Regions from separate parts of the Homo sapiens genome. Here regions 1 and 2 are each linked to region 3. Evidence: promoter capture Hi-C in human tissues and cell types (Jung and others, 2019). All regions are on one chromosome and are shown on one strand. Each heading gives the region's core, a stretch centred on a gene start or on the middle of the fragment in contact. The rest is flanking DNA. Distances are from core to core; before and after follow the strand shown.

What was found. The method cuts DNA at HindIII sites, captures the fragments that hold promoters and counts their contacts. A contact is called where the count stands out against the background at its distance.
Region 1: a fragment that was not itself captured here is called in contact with the fragment with the promoter of TTC29 in region 3 in 1 of the 25 tissues and cell types used here (spleen).
Region 2: a contact is called between a fragment that was not itself captured here and the fragment with the promoter of TTC29 in region 3, in 1 of the 25 tissues and cell types used here (adrenal gland).

What each region holds. Positions count from the first base shown.
Region 1 is chr4:146,983,857-146,987,952 of GRCh38, reverse strand. It overlaps LOC105377475 (a long non-coding RNA gene), which reads left to right. Exons shown (of 5, transcript XR_939315.3): 5 at 3,615-4,096. Among named protein-coding and RNA genes, the nearest start is that of TTC29, 40 kb to the right of the region's middle. The HindIII fragment of the contact is 7,005 bases long and covers 1-4,096 here.
Region 2 is chr4:146,904,697-146,908,842 of GRCh38, reverse strand. All of the region lies in intron 5 of TTC29 (tetratricopeptide repeat domain 29), which reads left to right. Among named protein-coding and RNA genes, the nearest start is that of TTC29-AS1, 27 kb to the left of the region's middle. The HindIII fragment of the contact is 5,691 bases long and covers 1-4,146 here.
Region 3 is chr4:146,944,301-146,948,469 of GRCh38, reverse strand. TTC29 (tetratricopeptide repeat domain 29) reads left to right here and starts at 2,606. Exons shown (of 13, transcript NM_031956.4): 1 at 2,606-2,761; 2 at 3,393-3,439. It overlaps TTC29-AS1 (TTC29 antisense RNA 1), which reads right to left. Exons shown (of 7, transcript NR_188447.1): 3 at 2,916-3,039. RefSeq lists a silencer at 2,474-2,613. The HindIII fragment of the contact is 11,756 bases long and covers 1-3,933 here.

The DNA of each region.
Region 1 (4,096 bases), core at 354-2,853, 40 kb before region 3:
CTTTTTTTCTTTCTTTTTTTTTTTTAAGATGGAGTCTCACACTGTTGCCCAGGCTGGAGTGCAGTGGCACAATCTTGGCTCACTGCAACCTCCGCCTCCCGGGTTCAAGGGATTCTCCTGCCTCAGCCTCCCGAGTAGCTGGGATTACAGGTGCCCGCCACCATGCCTAGCTAATTTTTTTTTTTTGTATTTTTAGTAGAGATGGGGTTTCACTACATTGGCCAGGCTGGTCTCAAACCTCTGACCTTGTGATCTGTCCCACTTGGCCTCCCAAAGTGCTGGGATTACAGGGTAAGCCGCTGCACCTGGCCAATTTCTTTGAATATTTTTTCTGCTCTATCTACACTCTCTCTCTCTTCTCCTTTTGGATTCCAAATACACATATATTAAACCTCTTGCTGTTCCCACATGTTATCTCTGGTCCTGTAGTTTGTTTGTTTGTTTGTTTTCAGTTTTTTTCTTCCCTCTGTTTTTAGTTTGATTGTTTCTTTTAATTGGTTTTTAAGTTCAGTGACCTTTCTTACGCACTGCTGTTAAAACTATGCATTAAATTTGTCTTTTCTTATATTGTATTTTTCAATTCTAGCATTTCCATTCATCTTTTGATAGTTTTATTTTTCCATTGTCATACTATACCTGGCCACCCATTATGTCCATTTTTAAATTCTTGAACATATTTGCAATAGCTGCTTTAAAGGTCTTTTCTGCTAATTGCAACATATTTGTCAACTCTGGATTTGTTTTTTCCCTGTCATAGTTTTATGTCACAGTTTTCTAATTCTTTGCCTATCTAATTATGTTTTGTTGTATGCCAAACATTGTTAATGCTACGTTGTTAAAAATCTGTATTTTATTGTCTTCCTTTAAAGAGTGCTGAGGTTTTTTTTCTTTTTTTTTCTGACAAGCAGTTAAATTACTGGTGGACCAGCCTGATCCTATCAAAGCTTGGTTTCAGATTTTGTTAGGGCAGTTAGAGTATCCCTGGCTCTAGGGCTAGAGAAGCTCAATGCCAAAATGTGGCCTTTCTGGATTCTTCAGGAATGCCTGAGTTTTCCGGAAGATTTCTCCATGTCATTGGCTGGAATTCCAACCTCTCCCAGTCCTGTGTGATCTCTAGAATCCCTGTTCAGTTCACAGCGCACCTCACACTATCATTGTTCCCTGCCAAAACAGGTCTTTCACAGTCTCTCATTGCACAAGTATAGCTTACTATCCAGCAAAACACGTAAAAAGGCCCAGCTGCAACCTCAGTCATCTCATTATGTGGGTACAAGCTAAAAATGGATGGCATTTGTTTGACAACTATAGTCAGAGATATCCCTGAAACATGTGGAGAATGAAAAATTGGCTGAGCTATGAGCAGTGCACTTTCTCATGCACTTTGTGTGGAAGAACATATAAATATTTCTGAGCAGTGGCCATCGTCCTAACAAATTGCTCAGGGACTTCGAGGGGAAAAAGACTGGATGATCTGAGAAAAGTAGTTCTGAATAGAGGCATTTGGATAGACATATGAGAGTGAACACAAAGCAAAAAGGTTTTTGTACCACCTATTAATGCCCACCAAAAAGCATCTATCCCTGAAGAGATACTAAAAAAAGAAATAGATAATATGAGTTGGTGAATTGATTTAGCCAGCCTTCATTGTCAACTACCCCAGGCATGTGATGGCATTATAGGATATTATGGAGGTGACATTGCCCCAAAGCATGGACTCCCACTTACCAAGGCTGATATAGCTATGGCTACCTCTGAATACCCAACCTTCCAGCAACAGAGACCAGTGATAAATTTCCAACATGACACGTTCCTCATGGAATACTCCTGGAAGGTCCAGAGGTTCACAGGGATGGATACCTAAACTAAATATGGGTTTGCCTTTTCTGTCCCAGGGCAACACTGTGTGTGTCCCACTCTATTATTTGGTGGTTTATGGAATGAGTGATCCACAGGCAAGAAATCTCACAAAGCATAGCCTCTAACCATAAGACCAACTTCATAGTGAAATGAGCACAGAAGTGGATCTGAGATCATGGGATTCAGTGGTTGTATCACATACGCTACCAACCAGATGCAACTGGTCTCATACAAGTCTGGAAGAGTCTTCTAAAGGTGCCAATGGAAGCACCAGCTCAGAGGAAACACTGAAAGGTAGATGTCATTCTCTAGGATGCAGTGCATTTAATTAACTAGAGATCCAATATGCTGTATTCTCTATAGGAAAAAGGCATGGGTTAGAGCATCAAGGGGTAGAAGCAAGAATAGCCTCACTTGTCATAACTCCCAGTGACATACTGGTAGTTTCATGCTTCCTGTCCCTACAACTCTGGACTCTTCAGGGCTGGAAGTCTGGGTCCCCAGTAGGCACGTGCTCTGCTAGGGAACATAGCATTGAACTATAAGTTATGGCTGCCTCCAGAGCACATTGAACTCATTATTCCCAGACCCCTGGTAAGGAGAGGAGTCACCTTACTGGCAAGAGTAATTTTCCCTGATCAGCAAGAGGAGGCAATGCTGTTTTTACCCAATAGGGGCATGGAGGAATGCATATGAAACACAGGTGCTCTATTTGGTCACCACCTGGTTCTCCCTTTACTTGCTGTATCTGTGAATGGACATTTGTAGCAACCTCAGGCTTAGACAAATGTGATTTTCAGGGGTTTGGATACTTCAGAAATGCTACCAAGACTTGCCTAGGGAATAGCTGAGTGTAAAGGGAGTTGGAATGCATAGTGGAGGAGAGTCAGGGTAAGTCTCAGTTATGGCCCCAACATCAACAGGAGCAATGGGAGCAGTAGCTCATCCCAGTCACCTCCCTATTCTGAGTTTTCCCACAGGAAGGAAAGACCACAGAAACCACAGAGGAGCTACTCTACAAATCTGCATAAAAGTAAATCTGTGTGGCCTAAGAGTGGCCTGTGGCAGCCATGAGAAACACACCTTGTAGATCTGCAACTGTGTGGGAGTATACTTGACCAAAGGCCCCAGCTGCTGCCTTTTAAATCCATTGCCACATTTCTCTCTGATGAACCTATGCTCTCAACATGCTGCTTCCGGTCAATGATGAGCGCATTGGTTCTGCTAAGGCAGGACAATTCCTGGAAGACACTGGCATCCTCTGACAGCAAATTTGATTTTGAGGACTCCCCATGGCCTTGCTTAGACTGTACAGCACTCAGACTTCCTTCCCTCTCTCCTCTCTGGTCAGACTTGCACTGCAGTCTGATGGTGCTCCCAGTCTAACCTAGCTTCGACCTATTTTCTCAAACAGAGTATTTCTCCTAATAGAATTCTTGCCTGTTAATCCTGTCTTAGTGTCTGCTTCTTTCAGAAGCAGGATTAAGAACTTGATAGTTTTCTTGGTATGACGTGAAGACTTTGAAGGATTGAAAGGAGGGGAATGATATGATCAATTACTTGTTCAGCCAGTGGTGTTCAATATTATGTGCCTAATATTTTATGAGGTCACTTCAGATACAAAGCCAAGAACTGAGAGAATAGTGAAGGAGTGCTTTGCCTTGTCCCCTTCCAATTACTAGTGTCCCTGATTATGACTGTAGAAAATTAATATGGATTGTGTCTTCCATCTACAATCTATTCTTGTCTTATTCCAGTCATCACAACTCCATCTTTCTCCCTCACGAAACTGTTTCTCCTGAATGCCCATGAAAATGTTATCACATAGGAAATATTTGTGAGACCTGATCTCTAATAATTATCAGCACTGAACGACTTTTGAATGAAGAAAATGGTAAGAATTATCTCATCTCTTAGGATTCTTCTATTTGGTAACTATTAATACATTTGCTAATTTTTTCATTTACTAGCAACAAATACAAGTTTGCAATGGTTTAATGTTTACCTTTTTAAAAATAACACTTTGGTTTTCAGTGTGTTGAAAGGAGAAAGCAAAAAGCGATTGTATTTTTAAAAGCTTTGGTGTATTGTCACTGAGAAATGAACTGGACCAGCCATATTCCCAAATTTGTTTTTTTAAACAAGTGGTAAATGGTAATTAAGTAATCCACCTTGAACAACATTTCAAGTTTTACGTTTATTCAGGATGCTATGGCCAAGATGGCTCCCAGACAGTTTT
Region 2 (4,146 bases), core at 691-3,190, 39 kb after region 3:
ACACGGGGGCATTCTGGTGATGTCCTTCCGAGCCAGGGAAGACAACACATAGCACCTAATAATATCTCCAGAACTTCCCCCATGAATTAACATAGTTCCTATCATTAGGTTTAAACCTTTCTACAGTTTTTCTGTATACGTAATCTGAATATTGACTTTCATAGAGGAGATACTTTCAAAGAGTACTATAACTTGAAAATCACACTGATTTTCCTAAGTTTAGATAGTGGACTTTGAAGTTTGGGTCAAGAAGTCCTACTGATTTGAATCAGAGAATTTATCTTTGTAAATAGTAAAAAGACATGAAAATCCTGCAATTCACAATTGCAAATAAAATTGTCAATTTTATATTTTCCATGACATCATTTCTAATACATTTTTTGTATTTCAAAATTTTCCAGAAAGTTAGTATACATTCCAAGTATTAAATATTTTCATTTCTACACTAATTATACTGATATTGTTGTCATAAATATTTCTTAGTTACATATTAGGAACTGGTCATTTTAACTAGTCATCTATAATCAAATAAAAAAATGAAATTCTAGAATTTGGCATGTAAATTTGGTATTCTAAATTATTCTTTTCTCCAAATTTTTTGGGGAAAATACCACAGGATTCAAAAAGAAAAACTCAGGCCTCAACATGACAATGTCTACATGTCATTTCAGGCTTTTCTATGAGAAAATAGGGTATCAGCAACTTTTTGTTACCCAATGGTACCATGGAGAAAATTTATGGAGTCATGTAAACAACATTAGAAGAGTCTCTATATGTTGGAGCCAATACATATTTCCCATCAGGTTGTGACCTGACTTATGAATATGAGACACACAAAAATGTGAACAACAAAACAAATGAACTAGGGTGTGTGTGTGGCAGGGGTGGGATAGGAGGTGGTTATGTATATTATGAAAAGGGTTTCACTGCAGGATGGATGTGAAAAAAAATATTTTGGTGAACTTTAAAATATTATTTACAATTATTTCTCAAGAAATTAACTATTGTAAATAAAAAGTGCTATTATAAAAAACCTCCATTTTGGCTGGGCGCGGTGGCTCATGCCTGTAATTCTAGCACTTTGGGAGGCCAAGGCGGGTGGATCACCTGAGGTCAGGAGTTTGAGACCAGCCTGGCCAACATGGTGAAAACCCGTCTCTACTAAAAATACAAAAAAATTAGCCGGGCATGATGGCGGACGCCTGTAATCCCAGCTACTCAGAAGGCTGAGGCAGGGAATTGCTTGAACCCGAGAGACAAAAGTTGCAGTGAGCTGAGATTGCTCCATTGCGCTCCAGCTTGGGTGACAAGAGCAAGACTCCATCTCAAAACAAAACAAACAAAACAAAACAAAACAACCTACATTCTAGTATTTGCCCAAAATTCTACAGTGATATTTAAACTGAAAGTAGAACTAAGATAATATTTGCTCATTAGCTGTTTTATTCCATTGAATTTTATCATATTCACTGTTTTAAATTGAGGCTTTCATTGGAGATAGTGTAAATATAAGCTAAATATGTCACTTGTCATAAGGTGTCATAGATGTGAGCCAGCTTGTCATAAAGCTTTTTCAAATTTATAAGAACCTAAAATGCCAAATAGTCTATTTGAGGGTAGAAAACATTTTAATATATAATATTTCTTAAAGGAAAGTTACTATAAGTAAAAATGTTTCTCCAATCCAAAAGTTAACAAAGCCTAACTTTTTGTTTTGTTTTGAGACAAACTCTTGTTCTGTCAACCAGGCTGGAGTACAGTGATGTGATCTCAGCTCACTGCAACCTCCTTCTTCCAGGTTCAAGTGATTTTCCTGCCTCAGCCTCCCGAGTAGCTGGGACTACAGGCACAAACCACCATGCCAAGCTAATTTTTGTATTTTTAGTAGAGACGGGGTTTCACCATGTTGGCCAGGCTGGTCTCGAACTCCTAACCTCAAGTGATTCTCCTACCTTGGTCTCCCAAAGAGCTGGGATTACAGGCGTAAGCCACCGCACCTGGCCCAAAGTCCAAAGTTATAATAGCCAAAGTCTCTTCTGTAGGATTATCTCCCACAAAATGCAGTGGCTTTTGTCTGGTTGAAATATAGAAAATTAAAATTATTACAAAAGTATTACTGGAAAAACTTCAGCTGAAGGACATGTAAACATTTGTGTCACCTTTTTTCAAAAATTGTTATAATTTTTTTTCCACATTCAACACATGAACTTTATTGGAGGAAAATTGTGGTTTGAATTAGGGATGTACCAGAAAATGAGATATGCACATTCACTCTTATTAACTTGAATGAATCCTAAATCTTAAAATGTGTATGTAAGCCTAGAATATAGAAATGTGTTAATAGTATCTTAAAGTTCCATTCCATATGGTTGTGACATTAGAGGCAATTTTCCTGAGATAGCATATAACTGAGCAATCTCGTTGCTTCTCATTGGAAGAACCATCACTCTAGGGTCACAGTGAAGTTCATTTAATCAAAGCTATGGCATTAACAATAGTCATCTCAGGTCAGTTCTATCTCTTGAGACTTACAGAGCAGTAACCTAGAGTTATTTAAATTACTTTATAAAACACTTGCTGTTTTATAGCAAAGGTGTGTTTAAAGTAAGCCAATCATTTCTTTTTGGGTTATTTTCCATTTGTTAAAGTGTTTCTTTGTCCCTGATACTTTTTTTTTTTAAATATTATCCATTGTCATGAATCATTGCTGTGCCATCTGTGACATCTGATTTGAGCCTTATGCCCCATGGGGCTAGGGAAGAGATGACAAAAATGGTAATGGGTAAGAGAATCAATAGATAATTCAAACATTATTTACACTTGACTTTTAAATTTATTAAGGGTTGAGCAGCAATTTTTTTCTAATAATGTTTGTTTAAGATACACAAATTATGTTCTAAGGCAAAATTCCACAGGTGTTTACAGATTTGATGTAAAGCAAAACAAAACAATTTTCTGGCCAAATAAGCTTGAGAAATACCCGGTGAACTAACATTGAGGTTAAGCAGGTTAATTTATTGCAGGACTAATCAGAGCATTCAGCATGCTGATGTATATTGTGTGGTTTACTGAAAAAGGAAATTTGCAAAAATGTTTCCCAAATTTATTTTATTGTAGAATCTTCTTTTTAAGGAGCATAAGAAACCCACAATAAAATTGATTTTCATCTTCTGAATATACCTGCTGTCAATTCAAGGAAGTGGTCTACAAGCAAGGAGAGAAGGCTACTTGTAGCCTTTGTAAAGGGTACAGGACACATATTTGGATTGCCCAAAGATTTGAAACTTGAATATATTCTTTTATATTTAATATTCTAGAAAACAATCCTTTATTCATAGAAAAATAGCTTAGCTGACAAGTAGTCTTTAAATATGTAATCTTGGTAGCTTATCTAACTCATTCCTAAAAAAAAAAACCTTATGAAATGTTGCAAATATTTTTACATTAAGGTTTAATTACTAAAATATAAAAAAATTGTTTCGGGACTACATATATTTTTAATTATATATATATATATACTTTTTATTAAAGTGGAAAATATGAAATGTTTTACTTACTGACTTCTAAAAGCAATAACTCTCTAATCAGTAAATATAACCAAGAATATGAAATATTACAAAACAGACTTTAGTGTTGTATTCACATTATGTAGGAAGTTCATAATGGAAAGACAAAGCACAGAAGTATTCTGAGGTGGGAGTATTTGCGTCAGATAAATAGCTTAGGTCATGCGCTACTTTTCACCTGAGCTGTCACCTGGTGTGAGTGTCCTCGAAAAGCAGAATGGCTCTCCAGAATCTCCAGCAACTTCCAGGATAGGGAGACCTTTTTATTTTGTTTTCCAGTTATTAAATTTATTTTGATATAAATGTTAATTTCCATTGGAATTTTAAAGAAGTATATGTAAAGGAATAGAATCGGTTTTAGAAATTTCTTTTGAAACATTGGGGTGACTTACTTACGGTTCTGCAGAATGACCCTTTGTTGTAATCAACCTGTTTCATTTTTTCTGACTTTTGGTTTTAATCTTACAGGTGTCCTAGTGGGCAATATTTTTCATAATTGTAATCTCTTCAGGAATATGTGGGTTGACTCCTCTGGTAGTAGTGAACAATTAATATCAGTGAATTCTAATAGATAATGACT
Region 3 (4,169 bases), core at 1,357-3,856:
TCATTATGACTATTAAAGGATAATCTGGTCTTTCAGGCACAGGTGAAATCGTGCATACCTGCTTTCTTAAAGTTGAGCATGGCTACTTCAGTTGTGGCCAACGAAATGTGAAAGTGATGGATACCCTTTTGGATGAAGCCTTTAAAGCTAATGTGCAGTTTACTCTCATGATCTCTCTGCTACAGACCAGCCATCCTCCAGGTGGCAAAGGTTCTCTCATATTGATTCTGCTGTGGCATAGCATGGAGCAAAACCCAAGGCTGACTTGTGATGGTGACATACGGTAATCAATCAATAAATTTTGTTGTTTTAGGCCACACAGATTTGTGGTTGTCAATTTGTGGTTGTCACTGCATATGGATCTTACTACTACATCACATACAAAGGAAGGACAATAAAATTGCCACTAGACTTCTCATCCCAAACACTGGATACTAGAAAACAGTGAAATAATACCTTCTAAATTCAGAGGGAAATGATTGTTAATCTAGAATGTGCAATCCTACCAAATGATTGTAGGCAAAATAAGGATATTGTCAGACATGAAAGAACTTAAAATTTTATCTCATATGTTCTTTCCTAAGATGTTACTTGGGGATGTGTTTAGTAAAACAAGAATGATTCAGAATAATTTTACTGTAGAAATTGATGATTGAGATATCAAAAACACTTTGAGAACAATTATGGGGAGCAGTTAAGATGGATTGGCTTCCATTAGAAAATTGTCTCTTGCTTCTTTAGGGAGCTGACCTAACCTAAAATCATTTCTCCAGAGCAAGACTGGAAGAGGAAACTTTAGAGGTTGTTATGTCAGTAATAGCATTCAAACTATCAGTTGTGTCACCTGACCTTCCCCCTAGAATTCTAGGTGGAGAAGATTGAGGAAGCAATGAGAAGAATTACACAAGGAAGAATCTGTTTGAAAAACCACTCTATTCTGTCATTCTGTTAATTCAAAAAATATTTTTGAGCACATACTGTATACTAATCCTTGCATACGGTACAAGGGAATTCAGAAAACAATAAAACAAAGTCTCTGCTTTCAAGGTACTCACAATCTTTCAGGCAAGTTTGGTTCCCATAAGCCAAACACCATGCAAAGTTATACTGATAAAATCAAGGTAGGTCTAAGAGAAAGGAGGCGAGAGGAGGAGAAATTAATTCTGTGTAGTGAAAGGAAGAGGTATTCTGGAATCCTCAAAACTTTCAGAAAGGCCTGAGTTTCTAGATAAAGTTGCAGCTGAATCTGGCATCCTTTGGTTTTCATCAGTTTCCTTTTTTGCTTAAGCCCGTTTGTGTTTTCTGTCACTTGCAAACAAAGTTCTCTAACTGAAGGAATTCTATGCTAAACAGAAGGAGAAAGAGAGTTAGTCAAAGAACTTCTAGTGAAAAAACAGCAAGTAGGAGAAGTAAGTCCAAAGAAGCAGGAAGGAACTACCTAGAAAGCCAACTAAGACAGCCTCCTGTGAGAAAGGAAGGTGCATGGAATTCACAAACAGACTCTAAGTCAGAAAAAGCAGCAAGGACTGGAAAAGAATTCACACAGGTCACAGTGGAGTGTGTTAAGGTGATGCTGAAACTGGAAAATAAACTCATGAGAATAGAATGAGAGTCTTACTGGTGTGGGGGATGGGGTGGAGCCCAATTACAGATAGTCACAGTGCTCATTGAATGTATAATGTAAACATACTTGGAAATAATTTAGTAATTTGTTACAGCAAATGAGATGTTAGAATGAAAGTGTGGTTATGGTTGATATGCTTGTACTCTAAATAGAATCGATTTATGGTTAATAGAATGATTCGTGTGAGCAATATCGCTGGCTCGTTCTCCTACAATGTGTGTCAGTAGACAAGGAACAATAGCCTAACTTTCCAGCACTTCTGTATTTTAGAAGTAACAAGTGGCAAGCCTCACTCTCTTGCCCCATATATATATGAGGGAATGAGCAAGGAATTTCACTTCCTTGCACTCATGTCTGAGAGAAGAGATGGAATGATGGGCCGAGATTAATACGATGATATTTATTTAGTGTAAATATAAAACCCTGAGTTTCAGGTAAAAATGCAAAACAAATAAGGACAGATGCAGGGAGATTCTCTGAAAGAGACCTTGAGTATTTAGCGAACCACAATTCAAAATTGAATTGTCTGTGGGGACATGACAGGAAAAGGCATTTGTGGTGGGTTCTGACTGCAAGAGAGGCTGAGGAAGAGGAGAATGAATGACTTAGCTAGATGGATAAATTGGCTTCAGGTCACGGGGATCATGAATGCCTAGCTCAGCGTTTTCCCATCAATCCTGTGGACAAAAGAGAAATGAAGAAAAAGCATTGAGAATGCAAGGCCACGAAAGAAATGAAAGTGGCAAATTCGAGCCTCTTGGGTTACGTGAAAATGCCTAAAAGCGAGCTAACTTCTGAAAGCAGCCCTGCTTGAAAAGCCTCAGCTATCTGGGGGCCCCGCCCGGCCGTCAGTAAGCTCCACCCCTCGCCAGACTCCGCCCCCAAGCCCGAAGAGTCTGGGAGCTGCCCCAATCCCGAGGCCCGGTTTAGCCTAACTCCACCCCCGGCCGTCATGCCTCGCCTCTCTGTTTCCGTGGAGACGCTCTCGGCGTCCCCTGTCTCCGCTCCGGCGGAGCCAGGCTTCGGAATCACTGAGAGAGGAGGGGGCAGCGCCAACGCCCAGCACCTGCCGCCGGTGGGGGACTGACTTCGGCGGAACGGAAAACTGGAGTTGTTTCCCTGGGCCAGTGCACCGAGGTTCGTGACGGCAGGGGCGAGGTTGGGACCGGACTTCCTCAGCTCCTTGGAGAGGCAGGCTGTTCTTCAGGCAGCCCCTTCCCTGACCCCTACAGCCAGCCCTTCCTCCATCAGTCTTTCTCAAGCTTCCTCAGTCCAGGCCCTCGCCACTTACCTCAATAAACGAATTGAAAGAGAAGTAGGGAAAGGCGCCAGTTCCTCTTGCTCCCCAGTTCACCTGACCCTCTGAGGGGAGTGAAAAACTAGGCATAGGATAAGTCCTTTAGTCCTGTTGAGAACTAGGTGGGAACAGAAAGGGAACTGAGATGCTCTCCGTTTTTGGCAAAGATAACTGTATCTCGTAAATTTGAGAGAACAAATGGTTATCCCTAATGTCACATTTGTATTGAAATACATCAATACATATACATATTTCAGATGTTTTGGCATTTCACTGATTTAGTGATTAGTTTCTCTCATAGGATCTATACTTGGGGATTTTCTTTAAAAGTTCATCTAAACTTAGATGGTAGGAAGTATTTGTTGTAAGAGTGAATCTTATTCCATGACTTGGAGCGGGGAGAGGAGTTACACTACTGAATGATTTTAAATTTTTCTTCTTTGCTATTATTCTTTGCTTCCTGATTTTCAGGCTGAAGTCTATAAGCCTGGAGAGACCATCAGCAGTAATCTGCAAATGTAAGTCACGTGAAATATGGCTTGCCTTCAAACTCATTTCCTGCTTGATTTTGTGATTTAGCCATCAATGTCAGCTGGTAGGAAATGTGTGTTTTCTATTTATTTTACTAAACAACCTATCTACCCATGAGAGAGTGCCAGAAGTGTCCAAAAATTATGATACCGAGAATAAACATTATTACTGACTCTTTATAAACTTAATTATGTTTTTTTTTTTACTTAGGGAGCATAATTAGTGATATTTCTTCTGTAGTTTTCATTAAACTTTCATAGTAAAAGAGCTTGGATAATATGAAAAGTTTTAATTCTTATGAATGATTTTTAGTAAAATCCTACTTGTTTTGAACTCGTGATGATGTATAATAAACTTGCTTACTGTGGTTTACTGGCTTTATTTCTCTAATCTCAGTTTTTACTCCAAAGTGACTGAACCCTGCAGACACTGGTCAGCCTCAGACATAGTCATTCTCCAAGTAGCCTCCATTTACATAGTAGTAGGTCTCCCTCCTTTGTGTTTCCTGATAAAGGCATCTCTGGGGATAGAGGGCAGGAGAGTTACTCTTTGAAGAATTTTACTTGGGGGCCAAAAATTTAAGCTCACACCATGGGACACATTCAGCCTGACCTAGCACTCTCAAACCTTTCATCCTGTATTTCTCCATTTTCATTTGTCTTTGCATGTGGGGGCCAAACTTAGAGATTGTAGCTGTGATACAAGAGCCAACCAGCA